Regions from separate parts of the Homo sapiens genome. Here region 1 is linked to region 2. The links are contacts of gene promoters, found by promoter capture Hi-C in human tissues and cell types (Jung and others, 2019). All regions are on one chromosome and are shown on one strand. The core of a region is centred on a gene start or on the middle of the fragment in contact, and the rest is flanking DNA. Distances in the headings are between cores, read along the strand shown.

The links. Contacts are between HindIII fragments. The study calls those that stand out against the background at their distance.
Region 1: a contact is called between a fragment that was not itself captured here and the fragment with the promoter of SLC19A3 in region 2, in 5 of the 25 tissues and cell types used here (H1 embryonic stem cells, heart left ventricle, mesendoderm cells and 2 more).

What each region holds. Positions count from the first base shown.
Region 1 is chr2:227,626,882-227,632,948 of GRCh38, forward strand. It overlaps the pseudogene SLC19A4P. Among named protein-coding and RNA genes, the nearest start is that of SCYGR4, 12 kb to the left of the region's middle. The HindIII fragment of the contact is 5,663 bases long and covers 1-5,264 here.
Region 2 is chr2:227,714,948-227,721,014 of GRCh38, forward strand. It overlaps SLC19A3 (solute carrier family 19 member 3), which reads right to left and starts at 3,081. Exons shown (of 6, transcript NM_025243.4): 1 at 2,996-3,081. RefSeq lists an enhancer at 2,612-3,498. The HindIII fragment of the contact is 9,813 bases long and covers 1-5,814 here.

The sequences.
Region 1 (6,067 bases), core at 1,183-3,682, 89 kb before region 2:
CCAAGGGCCTGTACCAGGGTCCATGGCCTGTTAGGAACCAAGCCACCACCAGGAGGTGAGTGGCAGGTGTGCAAGAGAAGCTTCATCTGTATTTACAGCCACTCCCCATTGCTCACATTACTGCCTGAGCTCTGCTTCCTGTCAGATTAGTGATGGCATGAAATTCTCATAGGAGCGGGAACCCTATTGTGAACTGTGCATGCGAGGGATCTAGGTTGTGCACTCCTTATGAGAATCTAATGCCTTATGATCTGTCACTGTCTCCCAGGAAAACAAACTCAGGGCTCCCACCGATTCTACATTATGGTGAGTTGTATAATTACTTCATTATATATTACAATGCAATAATAATAGAAATAAAATGTACAAAAATATAATGCACTTGAAACCATCCTGAAACCATCCCCCTGCCCTGGTTTGTGGAAAAATTGTCTTCCACAAAACCAGTCCCTGGTGTCAAAAAGGGTGGGGACTGCTGATACACATGGTCCATCATTAACCGAAACATAGTTATGCTTCCCATGACTGTAGTTCTATTTTTTCCCCAAATTCATGATTATTTTGTTCTATTCTTATGATGTTCTATTTATGTACCTTGTTCTATTCTTATGATGTTATTTTCCTCCATGTGTAAACATATTAAACATTTTATTTTATATTCTAATACTGATAATTCTTCTACGTCAAATCTTTGTTAGTCTGATTTCGCTATTTATTACTTCAGTTGGCTTGTTCATGAAACTTTATATCCTTGTTTGATTCTGAATTTTTAAAAATCATAATCTCCTATTCGATGGAATTTTATTTGTGGCAATATTTTGATTCCTGTATTGAGGTACATTCTTTCAGAAACCATTTGCCTTTGTTACATATAGGTGCCTGGAGACACTGCCAATCAGGACCACTTTAAACTAAATTTTCAGCTTGAAAAAAAAAGTTTAGCCTATAGGAATAGGACTCCAGAATTACGTAAGTGCTGGTTTATAAAGGCAAATGCTGAGGGTATATTCTCCAGACTCCACCCAGATTAGTCTTCTTCATTAGGGATTTTCCCCCTGTCATTTTGTATTTTGTTCTGATTCACCATTCACTGAGGATGTGGCCCTTTGGGGTTGTCACTAAAACCAAAACTCTAGGTTCTGGGGGAACCAGCAGATGCCTTGAGCACACCGCAGAGTCAATGCTTCCTTAGCTATCTGGCTTCCTGTTCTTGCTTTGGCATCTGAGGATTTTTCTTACTTTCTTACCAGTTTAGCCGTTTATTTTTTTTTAATTAAATTTATATCCACGAAATCCAAGGGTTTTGTGGTGTAAAGATTTTTCTGATATCCAGTCTGTTGTTGCCTAATGAAAGTAAGCCTTTCTTACTTTAATATTTTTTAAAAAGTCTGTTGCCTTTAATAAATAAGCTTTTCTTAATAAAAAAATTTAAAAACATTTACTGAAATTTGTTTAAATTTCAAACAACCCTAAAGTCCCCATCTTAGTCCATTTTCTGTTGACTGAGAATACCTGAGACTAAAACATTTGTTTAAAAAAGAAGCTTATTTAGCTCACAGTTCTGGAAGCTGGGAGGTCCAAGATCAGGTGGCAGCATCTGGCTGGCTTTTGGCGAGGGCTTTGCTTTGTGCTGTCATAACATGGTGGAGAAGGAAGGGGAAGCGCATGTTTAGAGACCAAACATGAGAGGCAGCCTTGCTTATAACAATTCACTCGAGTGGTAACTAATCCATTCCCAAGCAGGCAAGAGCTTACTTTCAGGAGAAAGGCATCGATCCCTCTTGAATGACCTAATCACCTCTTAAAGACACCAATTCTCAACACTGCCACATTAGGGACCAAGCCTCAGCACGAGATTTGGTGTCGTATTCCAGCCATGGCACCCCTTTCTCCTTTAAGCTCAACCCCTCAATCCCATTCCTCCTAAGGTAATTGCATGGAGACCATCTCCATTAGGATAGAAAAGTAAGAAAACAAGGCAACGTCTAAATGATCAGGACCCAAACTCACTCAAAATCCTTTTAAGGAGTTTATTTTGTTTGATAATGAAAATGTGGGCCACGTACGATGGCTCATGCCTATAATTGGAGCACTTTGGGAGGCCGAGGTGGGTGTATCACCTGAGGTCAGGAGTTCGAGACCAGCCTGGCCAACATGGCGAAACCCTGCCTCTACTAAAAATACAAAAATTAGCCGGGTGTGGTTGCATGTGCCTGTAATCCCAGCTACTCGGGAGGTGGAGGTGGCAGTGAGCCGAGATTGCACTCCAGCCTAGGCGACAAAGCAAGACTGTTTCAAAAAAGAAAAGAAAAGAAAAGAAAGAAAATCTGGCCTTTGACTTCAGCTGTCCTTTGAGTTAAGACACCAAAAAATAGTTTATGAAATAGTGGAACCTAAGCCTGATGGACCACACACAACCTGCATTTGAGTCCATGAATATGAAGTGAGAACACTCATCTGGGCTATCTGGAATGTCAAATAGCACATACTCCACACACACTGAAAAATATCCATTTTGATGTATGTGAGCCTATTCCAAATCCAGACGAATCCCCATTTCATGCACTTAAAATAATATCATCACTGTGTTTGACGTTTCGGGAGGTAATCTTTCTACGCAGAGTGCCCCTCTCCTTACTAATCCCTTTGGGGTTACAACTAAAATTCCATTTTCATGATTCTAACTTTTATTTAATTAAAGGTAGATTAAAGTACCAGTTATCCTAGCTGGTTAATCTAATGGAGGGTGCAATCAGAGGCCATCAGCTGGTCCCAGAGTGGCTGAGTGCAACGGCTGCTGGCTGTGAGCACTGGGCAGGGTCACTGCGTTATTTCCCAGTGAGGAAAATGAAGGCAGAGGAGCACAGCAGCTGCGGTTTCTGTGATATCAAAGGGGCACTTGGCGCCACTGGACTTTCCCTTTTCTTTTTTGTGTGTACTCCCCAAACTTGGTGATAAGAGTTGCTTTTCATGTCTTAAGCCTCAAGACCATCCAGGGAGGAGGAGGGTGAAGGCAAAGAAATTAGTGAATGACGGAGGAGTCTTACTGTCAACTCCCTTGATCAAGAAGAAATGGGCACTTACTCAGTCTGTTTCTCATTCCAAAAGTTATCGCTGCAAATTGGGGGGTGAAAGTGGGGAAGTGGGGGGCGATGAGAGGGATGAAGAGGTCTGGTAACAGGTAACCAAGAGGTGGGTGTTCTGGTGCAAAACTTGTGGGGTGTTATTACTTCATTTACCTAATTAAAGGCTTATTTTAAAAAATTAACCTTATTTGAGATGTTGTATGGTTATTTACCCACCCCCTCCAAATCCCTCTTATATTCAAACTTGTGAATTTCATCTATTTTTGGAAACAAGATTCTGCCAGAAAATCATTTTATATCATTAGTCAACCACAGTACAGTCTTGTGCCTTCAGTAAAGACAATTATATCTACCACTCTCTCCATAACCGGCTTGGTGATTATTACTAAATTACTCTTCAGCTTTTTCTAGTTGAGATAAAAATGCTTCTTTTAGCTTTCCTCATGGGCCTCTTCCCCTAATCTTTCAGTCATCTTCAAAGATGTGTCTTGAAGCCCCTTTTTAAGATCTTCATAAATCCATTAAGACCTTTGAAACTCCATAAATAGCTTATGTTGTGACAGCAGTTTGAGAGATGCTGGGAAAATGAAGGAATCGCTTCTGGAAGTCTCGATGCATCCTACTCTTTGCTGAATCTCTGTGTCAGAGAAAAATCCTGATTCAGTTTGTATTTTCTACTTTTTAGATTCCAATTTTTAAAAATGGCATTTGGCATCCTATTAGTGGAATATCATGAGTGCAGACAGAGTCAATGATGAATGGACATTTATGATTGAGATTTGGGAGTTACTAATCAATGCACTTCCATATTACTGGCTCTTAAAAACTTAATGAAAGCATATTTAATTAGATTCCTACCAAAAATCAATTTTTAAGAAGCACAGTTTTCAAGACCAGCCATTCATAATAACACCTTTTTTTCTTTGTATATAGGAATAGGGTTTGTCTTCTGTTATGCCTTTGAGCTGTATGTTTTTGCTCATCCTGCTCTGTACCTGGGTAAACTGGTCTCTTCTTTAGCAATTAAACTTTAAAATAGCTTTCCATGGAAGAACCGAATTGAAAGTTGTTCCAGCATTGAGGATGTCAGCAGAGACTAGCAGAGAAGATACGGTAGCAATACAAAGATTTTAAAGGAGTGACTTAAATCTATTCCTCTTGGTCAAGAAGGTAAAAGGATTCGGAAACATTGAAGTATCAGGGGATACAAAAGGTAAAGCTTGAATTTTTCTGCCAAATTTTAGATTTGTTTTCAGCTTTTCATGCCTGTGTGACCCCCTGCCTTTTGAAGAAAGAGCAAAAGGTGTTGATCTGCCAACAAAGAAGACACTGAAATTTTAAATTAGGTTACACAAAATAGTGGCAGAAAGGAGAATAGAAGGATTAATGGCTCGTTTTTATTTCTAGTCCTATTTTACCTAATTCAGTTATAGGAATTCATTCATTTCAACTTAGGATATAATGGATTTGTCGAAAAGTAAGGGAAATATCTGGAGCTGATTAATGTAAAAGTCTTTAGAAAAGGTAAGTGCCTCCTAACCATGTTGATTAATGTAAATAGATGTTATTTTTTTCAATTAGGAAAAGAGAGAGAGATGTTTGTTTATTGACAACACTAAAGGCCAGGAATAGTGTGGTTTAGAGGCCAGCACTTAACCTGTGTAAGAACTCATGCAGTAAGTCTTATATTCTCCATTTTACTCATAAGAAAATTGAGACATTAAGAACATATTACATCTTTAGGGTTTACTTTAAAATAATTTAGAAGCAGGGGTGAGAAATTTCATTGGGAGTGGAGTACAGATGAAACAAGATTGGCCACAAATTGATATTTGTTAAAGTTTGTTTCATTATACTATTTTTTCAAAATGTTGTATGTATTTGAAGTTTTCCAAAATGAAAAAATTTTAACATGTCACTATAAACATCAAGATTCAAAACCAGATTTTGCTGATTTCAAGCTTGTTCTCTCGCTAACAGATGATACACAGAATAATTTCTGAAAAACTGAAGAGCAATTTGCCAACCAGATAGTAAATTAGGAATTTACATTTTATTTTAGAAAGTAATGCTTACACGTCGAATAGCCTCAAACAAGCATATTATATTGAACAAGTGTGTAGTACTGAATCTACATGAATCTTAGTGTTAAGATTTATTAAATGGAAGCAATCCTTTCCTCTGTTGAACAAGTGCGACTACAAAGTAGATTTTTAAAAAATGTCCTGGCATTACTTCATTTAATTTTGTATTCTGAAATGATTTCTTTTTGCCTTTTTGCTTTTAAACAAGATAGCTTCTAAATATTTTGTAGGAATTCTCATCTATTTATAGAGAGGTAAGAATGACGATTTTGTCCATGAGACAGAGTAGATTTACAGAATTTGGGAACTAAGCTTTAATAAGATTGAACTTTAGCTAGGGCAAGGAAAAACCTTTAGCTGTAGCTAATGAGAACCACTTCCACTGGAATGACTTTATGGCTTTAATTTTATGCAGTTCTTTCATTCCTTCACCTCTTTAGTGAAAAGGTCACCTGTTTAATGAAAAGGTTTCTTAAGAAATAGAACCTTAACTACACCATATTTCTATTTCTCAGTATAAAATTATTCTATTGAAGACATCATGCTAAAGGAAAGAAACTAGAAATAAAAGGCTATATAAAAAATAATTCCATTGATATGGCATTCTATAATGACAAACTGTATGGATAGAAAACCAATCAGTTGTTGCCAGGGACGAGGGGTGGGGAGAGGGGATTGGTGGCAGAGAAACACAAGAGCACTGTTTGGGTTGATGTTTATCTTCATTGTGGTGGTAGTCACACAGCTGTACATTTGCCCTAATTCATAGAACTGTACATACAAAGTGTGAACTTACTGCACGTATATTATTTATCAATAACTCTGATTTTTAAAAGTATAAAGATAAATAGATATAGATATATAGTTTTGAAAACATGCCTCTTTGTCCATGAGAGC
Region 2 (6,067 bases), core at 1,831-4,330:
TAGCTGAGACCACAGGCACCCGCCACCAGGCCTGGCTAATTTTTGTATTTTTAGTAGAGACAGGGTTTTGCCTTGTTGGTCAGGCTGGTTTTGAACTCCTGACCTCAAGTGCTCCACCCGCCTCAGCCACTCAAAGTGCTGGGATTACAGGTGTGAGCCGCCGTGCCTGGCCTTGCCCTGACTATTCTTACTAAAGTCACCTAATTTAGCTTCTATAGAATTTTGTGCTAAGTGACCTAGACTCTCAAAAAACTACAAAGTAGCCTTATCACCCATCTATAATCCTTTATGTCAAACCCCACACCCCCCCCAAAAAAAAATCTTTGCTGAAATAAAGCATGCCACACAACTTCCAAAGACGTAAACTAGACCCAGATATTCAGTATGTGGGCCAGAATAGTTCTGTTGTTTGTTTTTGTAAGAGCAGAAACAAGTGATATTTTTAAAATTTTATTTTTAGTAAAGATGGGGCTTTGCCATGTTGGCCAGGCTACTCTTGAACTCCTGGCCTCAAGAAATCCGCCTGCCTTGGCCTCCCAAAGTGCTGGGATTACAGGTGTGAGCCACCGCACCCAGCCCAAGTGATCTTTAAGATGCTTCAGATTTTATTTTATCATATATGGTACCATTCCTTTTAATTTGCATGAGGTGTTTGCTGGTAAATTAATCATTTCCTTCCAAATTCTGTTTATTCTGTTATGTCTATGTTCAGATCAATCTAGTCTTAGGGAGAGCAGGAGGAATATGCCTAAGAAAACCATAAAACTAAGAAAAACATAAAACGGCTTAGAAAGTCAACTGAGCCCAGCCTGGGCAAAATAGCGAGACCTCACCTCTATAAAAAATACAAAAATTAGCTAGGCATGGTGGTGTGTGCCTATAGTGCCAGGTAGTTGGGAGACTGAAGTGGGAAGATTGCTTGAACAGGGAAAGTCAAGGCTGCGGTGAGCCGAGATCCCAGCCACTGCACTCCAGCCTGGGCAACAAGAGCGAGACTCCGTCTCAAAAAAAAAAAAAAAAAAAAAAAATTTCAAAAACCCCAAACAAAACAAAACAAAAAAGGAAAGTCAGCTGACATCTAATCCTTGAGATGCAGTGAAAGTTTCTGATTAAATGCACTGAGAGAAGGTGGTGTTGTAGGGAAAAAACTGGATTAAAGAAAAATTAGAGGTCATTTGAGCTATTTTACAACTCTGTAAATTTTAACAACTGATGGCAATGTTAAGTAATTATTGTCTATAGACATGCAAATAAGGTTTATCCCATGAAGGACAACAGTCTTCCTTTCCCCCATGGAAAACCAGTTTCAATATTCCTGATCTATATTTCATTATTCAATATTCCTGATCTACGAATGTACCCATTCTTTGGGTTCTTCTTTGATCTGGCTACTACAGACTCATCAGTTTCGTCACTAATAAGTGCCGGGACTCAGAAGCCGATACCCCAAAATATGGGGCTTTGACATGCTGGAGACCTCAAGGTCTCTCTGACCTTCCCGGCTCCCAGCTCAAAAAAACCTTTGTCTGCCTAAGATCCAGACCCACCAAAAGGAACAACTGTTTCTTTTCCCTTCCCTGTAAGACCAAGAATATACCCCACACCTGAACAGACCCATTCACAAGATAATGTAGCTTATTCTCTCCCCTGACCCATTCATGCTCCCTAGCAGAAGCCCATCCACTTCTGCTGGATGCTCTTCGGCTCCCTCCCGTAACCTCATTTGCCAGGGTAGTCTATAAGCTTCTGAGACATGTTGCAGGGTGGGTAATCAATCACTCTGATTCTCCCTGTGTGCATGTTAAATAAATGTGTATGCATTTACCATTACACAACCTTAAAAGAGTGTTGTTGGTCTATTAGCAATAATGACTGAAGGAAATTGGTATTTTTGTCCATTTCAGCTACTACTAGGATAATCTTATAAGATATTTGGGAAGTTATGTTTTGGTCTATTTAATATATGTGCCTCGATGAAAAAAACACCTTTTGCCACAGGAGACACCAATGTTTCAATATTGATAGGAGCAAAACACATGAGAGTGCTTTTTTTTTTTTTTTTTTTTTTTTTTTGAGGCAGAATCTTGCTGGGTCGCCCAGGCTGGAGTGCAGTGGTGCAATCTTGGCTCACTGCAACCTTCGCCTCCCAAGTTCAAGCCATTCTTCAGCCTCAGCCTCCAGTGTAGCTGGGATTACAGGCACCCGCCACCATGCCCGGCTAATTTTTGCCTTTTTAGTAGAGACGGGGTTTCATCCCAGGGCCAAGCTGGTCTCGAATTCCTGACCTCAAGCAATCCGCCCCGCTCAGCCTCCCAAAGTGCTGGGATTACAGGCGTGAGCCACTGCGCCTGGCCTGAGAGTACTTTTAGAAAACATTATTCCTTTACCTTTTTCAAACTTGAAGCACTCCGAAAGTCCCAACCTTTTGCACATTTGCGGCAGCGACATTGATTTGGTAAACAGCTGTCACACTATTTATTATTTGATGACTTAGGTATCCTTTCCAGCAGTGTTTTTGTAAGGTGTAGTTGCGTTTTCTTTTAGTTTCAATTAACTAAATTTCAAGTGGTTCCCAAAAAAGCCCCTGCTCTCTTAAATTCAAACTCACCTTCCTTTTTCCCACTAGGAAGGACCTTTTCTCCATCCTTGGATTGGAATTTGGAATTCTATGCTAAAATGCCTTTTCAGTTAAAATCTGTGAACGTGGGATGTAACCATAGGAGGTGCTGGCACTTTACGGGAATCATGATTTTATTTAATCTGCGCTTCCAGAAGGCTGCAAATGGGAATTCCAGACAAACCCACTTGGGTGAATCCCAGCACGCGGGCTGCGGCGTAGGGGGAGAGCTCCTCACGCGGCTCAGAGTGTAGCCCAGGCCCGCAGAGCCAGGAACCCGCCCCCAGCTCTCCAAACCCGGGAAGAGAGAGGCGACACTGCTAAGACCGAGGGATGACGGTGCTTCTTCAATTAATTCGCCCCCCGAGATATTCTTACCTACAGAAGGGAGTGTCTGTTCACCAAATCGCTCACTTGCCGCACGACCACGCACCCGCGGCTGTCGGATGGATCCAGGCGCTCTTGGTGGGAAGGGGGCGGAGCCTGCCTGGCCCGGAGCCCGGGGCCACGCCCCCACGCTTTGCATATGCGAATCCGGGCGTCCAGACCTTTCATCCCAGTGTGGAAGCCCAGATTTTCCTGGCCCAGGGCCGGTTTTCTGGGCAGAAACAGTCAACTCTGCTGAAAGGAACAACTTAAGTAATACACTGACATTCAGCATAATGAAGCAAGAGGGCCTGAATCCAACAGCGATCGTTTGCTTTATTTACAAATATGTCCTTTCTTATGAATCCATTTATTTCTCTCCAAAAGCTTAGGAGAGAGGGCTGGCTGGCTGTCACCCCCACTCTACACATGAAGAAAGTGAGGCGGAAGGAAGTAGGCCTAGTAAATAGAGAAGCCTGGGTTTTAGTTGGGGCTCCTGGCTCCAGAGCCAGTGGTTATAATCACTCTGCACTTTTTTTTTTTAAAGGAGGTAGAGTGGGATGGTTTCCTGGCACTTTGAAAATCTGATACAAACAATTTTTTCTTTTCTTCTTCTTTTTCTTTTCTTTTCTCTTTTCTTTCTTTCTTTTTTTTTTTTTTGAGACAGAGTCTCCCTCTGTCGCCCAGGATGGAGTGCAGTGGCGCGATCTCGGCTCACTACAACCCTCCGCCTCCCGGGTTCAAGCGATTCTCCTGCCTCAGCCTCCAAAAATTAACGCCCAGTTAATTTTTGTGTTTTTAGTAGAGACGGGGTTTGGTTTCACCATATTGGCCAGGCTCATCTCGAACTCCTGGCCTCGTGATCCGCCTGCCTCGGCCTCTCAAAGTGCTGAGATTACAGGCGTGAGCCACCGCGCCTGGTCTTTTTTCTTTCTTTCTTTCTTTCTTTTTTTTTTTGAGATGGAGCCTCGCTGTTGTTGGCCCCGGGCTGGAGTGCAATGGCACGATCTTGGCTCACTGCAACCTCCACCTCCCGGGTTCCAGCAATTCTTCTGCCTCAGCCTCCCTAGTAGCTGGGATTACAGGCGCCCGTCACCACACCCAGCTAATTTTTGTATTTTTAGTAGAGATGGGGTTTCACCATGTTGTCCAGGCTGGTCTCAAACTCCTGACCTCAGGTGATCCACCCGCCTCGGCCTCCCAAAGTGCTAGGATTACAGGTGTGAGCCACAGCACCCGGCCACCTGGCCTCTTTTCTTTTCTTTTCTCTTTCTTTCTTTCTTTTTTTTTTTTTTTTGACAAAGTCTCACTTTATCTCCCAGGCTGGAGTGCAGTGGTGCAACCCCAGCTCACTGCAACCTCAATCTCCCAGGCACACTGATCCTCCTGCCTCAGCCTCCCAAGTAGCTGGGCTTGCAGGTGGGTGCCACCACGTCACATTAATTTTTTTGTTTTTTTTTTTTGGTAGAGACAGAGTCTCACTATCTTGCCCAGGCTGGTCTTGAACTCCTGGGCTCAAAGGATCCTCCTGCCTTGCCCGCCCAAAGTGTTGGGATTACAGGCATGAGCCACTACGCTTAGCCTGCAAAGAGTTTATATATTAAAGTGAAACTTCTTATTAAACAGAGAATTTTTTTAAAGCATTACAAGGTTCTTATTGGTTAAAATGGAAAAAATATTTTTATTTCTGTTCATCTCTTGGTGGACTTGAAAAACCCTCCCTAAAGATAAACACTGCGTGGCTTCTAAGGGCTACCAGTGGAAGTGAAATGGATTAAAACACCCCGAGGTGTCTTGGTTCTCTGTCCTACGACTCTGCGTTTTCTATTTTCATCTTCCTATGATTTGTGAAAAGTCCTGAGCTGAACCTTAGGTGTAGGAGTGCCCTGCTCATTGTGCAACCTTGCAAATTGCTGGGTCCTCCCAAAGAATATTGTGAAATTTTCTTAAAGGCTGAAGGTGTCATGATTTCCTTCACACCTCTTGAAGAAAATGAGTTCAAATTGGACCTTGAGAAGTTTACTCTGATTCTCTAATATCTCATAGCCACAGTCTAAATCAGAGAGAGATATTGAGGAATTCATTCATTCATGCATAGAAACATAAATGACACATTTGCAGATTACATGACATGACATTTGAGTTTGATCCCATACGACTGTGTGGGGAGAAGGCTGTGGATGGGGTCATAGATGACAAAAGATTGGCTGTGTGTTGATTATTGTTGACTTGGGCAGTAGTTCTTAGAAACTGATTGCACTATTTTCCATTTTTGTATATGTTTATTTTCCATAATACAAAATTGTTTTAAAATCATTTATTCTGACTGGGCACAGTGGCTAATGCCTGTAATATAGCACTTTGGGGAGCCGAGGTGGGTGCATCGCTTGAGCCCAGGAGTTCAAGACCAGCCTGGGCAACACAGTGAGACCCTGTCTCTACAAAAATACAAAAATTACCCAGACGTGGTAGCATGCGTCTGTAGTCCCAGCTACTTGGGAGGCTGAAGTGGGAGATTGGCTTGAGCCTAAAGAGGTGGAGGTTGCAATGAGCTGAGATCACACCATTGCACTCCAGCCTGAGTGACAGAGCCAGACCCTGTCTCAAATAAACCCATACACAAAAAAGAAAAAAAAATCATTTGTTCATTAAGAAGTTATTTATTGAGTAACTATGTGCCAGACACTGTCCTAGGTGCTTGGGATACATTCGTGAACAAAGCTAAAAATCTCTGCCTTGTAATTTACATTCTAGCTTGGGATGGGGTATATAGAGGGAACATAAATAGTAAACATGATGAGTTAGTGAATTTTATAGTGTGTTAGAAAGTGGTAAGTGCCGTGGATCCCACTGAGAAGAGGATGGAGAAGATGACTAAGCCTGAGGCTTGGAGCTCCAACTTGGGAAAGAACCTACAGGGAGGCTGAATGAGAACAGTAGGAGAGGGAGCCATAGTGTATTAGGGAGTTGCTCAACACTGTGTACCTCCCTATTATACTTCCTCTTGCACTGTTACTAAAAAATGTGGCTGCAATTATGTCCATGAAAACCTATACAAGGCCAGGCATGGTAGCTCACGCCTGT